Linked DNA regions of Homo sapiens: region 2 is linked to region 1. The links are contacts of gene promoters, found by promoter capture Hi-C in human tissues and cell types (Jung and others, 2019). All regions are on one chromosome and are shown on one strand. Each heading gives the region's core, a stretch centred on a gene start or on the middle of the fragment in contact. The rest is flanking DNA. Distances are from core to core; before and after follow the strand shown.

The links. Contacts are between HindIII fragments. The study calls those that stand out against the background at their distance.
Region 2: a contact is called between a fragment that was not itself captured here and the fragment with the promoter of DEFB115 in region 1, in 2 of the 25 tissues and cell types used here (dorsolateral prefrontal cortex and mesendoderm cells).

What each region holds. Positions count from the first base shown.
Region 1 is chr20:31,255,899-31,259,801 of GRCh38, reverse strand. It overlaps DEFB115 (defensin beta 115), which reads right to left and starts at 2,138. Exons shown (of 2, transcript NM_001037730.1): 1 at 2,045-2,138; 2 at 170-342. The coding sequence starts at 2,138. The coding sequence ends at 170. The HindIII fragment of the contact is 11,769 bases long and covers 1-3,903 here.
Region 2 is chr20:31,317,634-31,321,983 of GRCh38, reverse strand. No RefSeq gene overlaps it. Among named protein-coding and RNA genes, the nearest start is that of DEFB116, 11 kb to the right of the region's middle. The HindIII fragment of the contact is 4,475 bases long and covers 1-3,840 here.

The DNA.
Region 1 (3,903 bases), core at 889-3,388:
CATTGTTGGGCTACAGCAGGCTAGAGAGATATATTGATAGCAGGAATGAGCTTGTTTTTCTAACGGGCCCTGTGAAGACTTGACAGAGATCTAGGAAAATGCAGGTGCCCCCGATAGCCATTTCATTGACTCATTATAATGACTTAAAATTCTGAATTAGGAGTCGCAACTAGATATATAGCTCACTTGTCTCTTTTTGGTCGTGAATGTGTGATAGTTTATCCTTTTCTTTAGGGACACAGCAAATATGTTTTTCCCCACATTTTTCTTTCTTCCTCTCAATTTCTTTGCATGATTTCCTGCATCTGCCAGTTCCATAATAGCACCTTCTGATCCATCCATCTATCAAAATAAGCAAACACATGAATATATAAATACATTTGAAAAATAAATACAATTAAAGAAAGGATGTTGGTAATAGTAATAATGGTTAGAGTGAAACATTGATTTTGACACTTAAAGGCATTCATGGGAATGTTATAAATTTGTGCATGTTTAATGACTAGGAGTAGTTATCTTCCTCTAATCAGCTCTAATTGAATTTTATTCCTATGCTTATGATACTTTCTTCTCTGTCATTTTTCACAGTCTCACTAAATCTGGTTCTACTTCCTCTCTAAATCTAGATGCTTGCCAGGGAGTGGGACTAAGCCTTCAATTATCTTTTTTATCCTCTCTCCATTCATTATTCATCTAACCACAATTTGTTGAGCATCTACTATGTGCCAGGCATTGTTTGTTCTAGGGGTGCTTGCCCCAGGGGTTGTTTAAAGCAAGACCCTGAACAATGGATGACCAATTTACATTTCTGAGCTGCAGGCTGAAGTTGTGTTTGTGTGTGTGTGTGTTGGGGGGTGGGTGCAGGGAGGGTTTAACACTGTGCCCTTCTCTGATTTATTTTCTGTGACTCTAAGTCAACGCAGACTGCAAACCCAGTTTTCTCAGCACATTGGATTCATTTGAGGGATCATTATATCTTAATCTAAACTACAGATTCTTTCCACTTGTCTTTTCCCCAAACTCTTCTTCTGGGAGATAATTCCTAATTCTCTGTCTTTTACCAGAATGTTCAGGCTGAAAAAAATCAGTCACATTGACTCTCACTTTTCTCTTCCAGTATTTCATAAGTCAATATGTAGATTCTTTCTCCAAAATGTCTCTTGCATCTGCAACTCCCTCTATTCTACTTGCCCTCGCTGGAACATAAGGCATGCTCAAGCCAACTCAGGGTTAGCCCAGAATAACCTTCTTTTGCTTCTAGAACAACTGAGTGATTGGCAAAGGCTTTCAGCTTGAATAGCTGCTCCAAGAGAGGATGTGACTTCCAACAGCAACGACCCAAAGGAAATCACAGAATTAAAAATCATCAACTTTAGAGCCCCTGGGAAGCCTAAGGGGAAAACATTTCCATTAGAAAGTTATTCACCACCTGGCCATGATGCCTGTTTATACTGTTAGAGAGCTTTGAGCGTGTTCAACTTGAAAGCCAAAATCTTCTGCTGTAACCCCAGCTCCATACTGTGAGCCTGTTTTTATAAACCTGTAGATATCAAACATCAACTTACAACTTTTTCACCATATATTCCAAGACAAGAGCAAGTTGCCTCTTCTGCCTGCTTTAAAGGAGCACTCAAAGCCCAACAACAGTGGAGAAGTGAAGTAATGAGACTGATTATTAGAAGAGGTAGTATCAACTGAAAGTGGGGTTGAAGTGAGAGACTCACAGGATGAGACTGTTGACATATGGGCCAGAGGCATTCAGGATACTAGAGATGTTGGGGTTGCTTCTGCATATGGAAGGGACTTCATATAAAACACCTTGGCCTCTGCAGATATTCTCCAGGTTCCCTAATGAGAACCACCACCATGGTCAGGCCTGACAGGCTGCCCTTCTTATGGGAGCATATTCATTATAAGCCTTTCATCAGATCTCAGCCATCCCTGTGGGCTCTCCTTGCTTCTACACATGTTCAATTTTCCAGTGATTCTGTGGTTAGGACCCCATCCTTACTCCCTTTTCCCTTCTCTCCATGGTTCTGTTTACCTGGGGCAGTCTGAGCCAGGACCACAAGGACAACTAAGGCCAGGACAGAGAGTTTAATGTCTCCTGAGAGGGGTGAGAAATGATCTGGCAGCATTCTGAGTGTGCTGGGGAAGCTGGGTGTGCACTCAGCATTTTATTGACCTAGGCAAGGCTGACTCACAGACAAAAAATTAGAGAAGGGCAGAATGTTACACCACCCAGAACATCAGCCTGCCACTCAGCAGTATAAACTGATTATCCGGTGTTCAGGGTCCTGCTCTAGATATCCTTGGGGATGGTGAAAGGCACGAGCAGAGGAGGTACAAGTCCTCTCCAAGGCTGTTGCACTGGCCAGAGAACAGATCCCTTCTCCAAGAAGCCTTTCCTGTCCCTCTCCTTCAGAATTTATCCCCCTCCCCTACATTCTCACAGCTGCTGTTTTCTTTTTCTCTGTGTGTTTATCATGACACACTGGAACTAAGTGTTTTTCTAGTTCCTCCTCCCATTCAGAATGATACCCTAAGGGAAACTTTTAATAGACAGTGAGACCCCTGAGGTTAGGAACAGGCTGTCATTTTGGTACACCCAGAGCATACAGTGAACATGTGTTGAAAAGCACTGAGTGAGTGAACGCACATGTGGCATATAATTGTATCCCAGTAGCTCTTAGAATTGGCATTTCCCAGCTAAGAAAATGCAGGCTGAGAGTGGAAAAGAATTGTCTAGGGTCCTACCATGAGCAAGAAAGAAACGGACTGGGGTGGAAGCCCTCATAACCCAACTCGTTGTCCAGCTCTTAACTCTGAATTTGTATCCTATTTTCCTGCTCCAAATCCTTCATATCAACCATTTCTGGGTCTTTCTTGGACTCCAGCCTCAAACAACAAAGCAAAAAATATTTCATGCTGTTTTTCCAACAAAAAGAAGAGGGCACTGCCCAGGCTCCATTAGGAGGGCTGCCTGTGGGCCCACTGGATCTTCCTTTTTGGGTTCCTTGTCCTTTTCCGCCTTTGGGTGAGTCCAGTGTGCATCGGTTTTACTCTCCTCTTTCTACATGCAGGCAGCGGACCTGATGGGGTTCAGGAAATTTGTTTTGCTTTTAGGATTTGGACAGAACTTTCTTCAGGAAAGCAATGAACATCAATGTCATCCACTGAACTTTCACTGTCAGGCAGCAACTATGCTAAGCACTTTATATATATGACCCCCTGGAATCCTCACAGGAGCCCTGTTAGGCAGGTGTGATGTGCTCAGGGTTACACAGTGACTATGAGTGAGGTCTGGATTCAGATCTGGGTTACCTGTCCCCAGATAACATGTTCTTTCTGTCATCCCAGAGGATTATGCCTGAGCAATGATGGAAGGAGAGGTCTGTTTAACTTGAAAAGCAGTAAACAGCTGGAGAGAGTCATAATTGCTGTCTTCAAGTATCTGAAAGGCATGTTCTCTGTAGGCCCACAGGGCAGAACTAATAGGCCTGAGTGGAAACTGCAAGGGCACAAGTTTTGAAACTCATCAGAAAGACCTCTGAAGATGGGAACCATCTGGAAAATGGTTAGACTGCCTGGAGGAGCTAGCTGGTGGCTCCTGCTGTTTTAAAGCTGCAAACTGAGACGACATGACCACTCCCCTCAGATTCTGCAGGGAGGATGGCTGAATTGGCTGCATGTGGGTCTGTGCACTGGCACAATTCTAGGCACTGAGCTTAAGAGAAGAAAGCAAAGTCCGGCCATTCTAATTAGGGAGAGGGACAACATATAGTGTCAGTTGGTGATAAGTGCTATAAAGAAAAATAGGGAAAGGAGAATAGAGAATAATATACTTGTGTGTGTGTGTATGATAATATGTGTGTGCGGGTGTGCGTGTGAAAGGCACACAGG
Region 2 (4,350 bases), core at 354-2,853, 63 kb before region 1:
AGGCAAATAGATAAATAAATTGTGATATATTCAAAGAATGAGCTACATATCAGGGAAAAGAAGTAAAATTCAGCTACACACAATAGTTGAATTTTAATAATAATAATATATTATGGATTGTAAAAGACAAATCTTAGAAGACTATGCATACCAAAGAAGACTTTGTTACCTCTTTTAAAAATAAAACTATTTTTTTCCCAGTTTTATTTTTCTCCCCAAAATTAAACTTTAAACAATAAAAATTACCATTATGCTACTTAGAAATACAAATAAATATGTTAAATTCTTGGGGAGTGGATAAGGAAAGGCAGGATGTGTGGGATTTTAGAGGAATACAGGAGTATTTAAATTTAAGTTATTGATGCTATTTTAGCTCTTGTATTTGTGAAGGACTCGTTATTTTTAAAATAAATGAATAAAAACATTACAATAAATAAACATTAAAGAGGGCTATAAAGATGCCAAAAATTTTGTATGGACCAAGATAATGGTATGCACCTCTGGTATATTAGAAAGGAAAAAAAAAACACACAAAAAAAACCCCCCACAAAAACCTATAGAACAATGGATATCGCAGCTGCAACTGGCATTATCTAGAAAGGAGTCAGCCTTCTCCAGCTGTTTCACTATATGTAGAGATGGTGTGGTACAATGGATATAGTTGAGGGTTTGGGATATGAATGTTGGCTTTATTACTTACTATTTAGAGAGACTTTGCTGGAAATTTGTAAGCACAAAACCAGAAAACAGCTATGAAGAATTAACTACTTAAATTTAATTACTTCTCTATGGCAAAATGTACCATACACAAATTAAAAGGTAAGTCCAACACTGGGAAAATATTTTATTACTTCTTTAGTTCAAAGATTTCTCTGGTGGGGCATGAGATAATCTTATGGGCAGTAAAGTACTTACCTGAAGGAGATTATAAAGTGACACTGTCTAATTTATAAGAGGATAAAGAAACCTAAGTTTGAAAAAAACTCAAGTTGCACATAACCTTGAGGTTCAGACATATTTAGACTTGTTTAGAAAAAGCAAAAGAGAAGATACTGGTCAAATAGCAACCAAATTTCAAGAATAGGCAGAAAGAATCTTCTTTCCCTAGTAGCCATGCTGAGCAACAAAGCTTAACATTGGGCTTAAGCATTTGCCTTGAACTCCATGGCAGAGTGAGTACTTTTCTGCTGAAAACATCTCTAAAATGGATATTTTTCATATTTTCTTAAATGATTTCATAAGCTTGCAAAAATTAAATAATATGGAACCAAGAAATTGAATTGAGAAGGGAGTCCTTTTAGGAAAAGAAACACTGAAACAGTTTCCACCTTGAGGGTATTTCCTGAACCATATGAACTTGAGTTATGCTTTTCATGGCCTTATGGAACTGAGAAATGGAAATTACTATCCAGAGTACCAGTGGTAAAAAACCTAATAAGAGACTCCTGCATCAATATGGGACTTCAAAGAATTGCGTCTTTACAATAACAGTGAGCTGGAAACAATCCCTACTCCCCAGTTGGATTGCAAGGAAAATGAACTGTTTTTAATTTAGTTAATGAGAAGATTGGGTGTGTGTGTGCAAGGGAGTCTCCTCTGAGATTTTGTAATCCCAAGCAGGCCCTCACTTAGTATATAGCCTGAATCATGGCACTCTGATGATATGAAAAATCTAAAGCTGAGAATCTAATTTACACAGGCCCAGACTGGTAATGCCCTTAGTTGCCTGACAGAAGTAAACATAAATATTCTCTGAAGAACTCATCTTAATCCTAGACCTCTTTAAAAAAGTTTAAAGAAAATGATCAGTTCGCAGACAAAAATCACAAAACTCTCAAGAAAATAAAGCATTATGAATGAGAAGCAGCAGAAAGAATAAATAGTAAACTCAAACCTGGAACAATTCAGATATTGAAGTTGTCAGTCACAGAATAGAAAGTAATTATCTTTATGGCTGGGCACATTGGCTCACGTCTGTAATCCCACACTTTGGGAGGGCAAGGTGGGCAGATCACCTGAGACTGGGAGTTCAAGACTAGCCTGGCCAACATGGTGAAACCCCCTCTCTGCTAAAAAAAAAAAATTAGCCAGGCGTGGTGGCATGTCCCCGTGATCCCATCCACTCGGGAGGCTGAGGCAGGAGAATCGCTTGAACCCAGAAGCCAGAGGTTGCAGTGAGATGAGATTGGGCCAGCCTGGGTGACAAAGCATTCCAGCCTGGGTGACAAAGCAAGACTCCATCTCAAAAAAAAAAAAAAAAAAGAAAAAATAATCATCTTTAATATGTTTCAAGAAAAAATCAAGACTTGAAATTATAAATAAAAAGCAAGCAGATCTTGGCCAAGTGCAGTGGCTCATGCCTGTAATCGCAGCACTTTAGGAGGTCGAGGCGGGTGGGTTGCCTGAGCTCAGGAGTTTGTGACCACCTGGGGCAAGATGATGAAACCCTGTCTCTACCAAAATACAAAAAATTAGCTGGATGTGGTGGTGCACACCTATAGTCTTAGCTACTGAGGGGGCTGAGGTGGGAGGATTGCTTGAGCCAGGGAGGTGGAGGTTGCAGTGAGCTGAGATCATGCCACTGCACTCCAGCCTGACTGACAGAGTGAGACCCCATCACAAAAAAAAAAAAAAAGGAAGCAGATCTGAAAAATAAATAGAAATAACTTGAAATAACGTGAAAATAAAAACTTGGATTTAACATTACATTAGACATAGCTGAAGAGAGAATTAGTGAATTAAGAGATTATTCAGAAGAAATTATTCAGAATTTAGTGCAGATAGACAAAAAGATTAAAAAAATAAAAGGGAGGTTAAGAGACATAGAAAATATAGTGAGAAGTCCTAAACATGTTTATTTGGAATTCTAGAAGGAAAGAGGAGAGAAAATGGGAGCAGAAGTAATAGTACCAGTTAACATGACTGAGAACTTGTGAACTGATGAAAAACACCAATCTTTCAGACTCAAAAAAAACCCTAATAAATCAAAACCAGGGTAAATATGAAAAATGCACATGTAGATAGAACACAGGGAAAATGTAGAATAATGAAAACAAGGAGAAGATCTGAAACCAGCTAGAGAAAAAGGTCCTATTACCTGCAAGGGAGCAAATATTAGACTGACAGCAACTTTTTCAGCATCAACAAAGAAAGCATGAAGACAATGATACTATATTTTCAGTGTGCTGAGGAAGAATAACTCTCACATATATTCCTACACCTAATGAAATTGTAATTTAAGAATGAAGATATACTGTAGATATTTTCAGATAAAATCTAGGAGAATTTTCTATAATAGGCTATCACCAAAGGAAATTCTAAGAGAGAAGCTTTAGACAGAAGGTCAATACTTGTAAATATGTGGCAAATTTGCAATCATTCATTGATAAAATAATAACAATAGTATTTTTCTTAACCAAAAACAATAAGATAAAATTAAAATTGCACATAAATTAGGAGATGAGTATTTGGGATTAAAAAAATAAAGTTGAAATGAATAGGAAATACACTAACCCAAAGAAAGCAGTTTAGCTAAATTAATATCACACAAAATAGACTTCCAGGAAAGAAAGCATTATTGAGATAAAAAGTATAACTGCGTAGTGATAAAATGTTCAACTTACTGGGAAGACATGTTTTCCAAACATATTTTTGTACCTTTATTAATACAGCATGGAAATATATGTAAATAAAAATCATCAGAAATAAAGAGGAATGGATGAATCCATAATTAAAGTCGGGGACTTAGAAATCCTCCTCTGAATATAGATGTGGTAATCACCAGTTAGTAGGATTAATCTAATATACAGAACACTGCATCCAAATGATACAAATTGTTCTCAAATAGAGACAAGAACATTTATAAAATATTATCACAGGCTGAGTGATATGGGACATCTTATCACATATCAACATAATGAATAACCTAAGAATATCTGCCTTATTTATTTGCCATTGTTACTTGACAAATTATAATTGTATATATGGAAGCTCTGTCTTTTGATTATATTGTAGGCATTTGTTATGGATAATTTTATATGCTTTTCTTATTGATTCATATGATATATATGACTTTTGGAGTATTGTAAGGAGACCTAAATTTAGGTGGCTAAACAGAATCCAGAAACCTCACAAGCATTAAAATGTAAATATTTTAGTTTTTCCAACTTAAATTGACTAGAACCAATAGCACCGTATTAGCAATGAGCATAAGTGCCCAGATTTTGGTCTGCAAGTCAAGTCTTCACTCAAAGCAACCAGGGCCATTTAGAAAAATGGCTGAACCCTGGTCTAGTGCTGTGGACTTACAGTGTGAGCCCAGGACATTTTCTTGTGCAGAAATCATCAAAG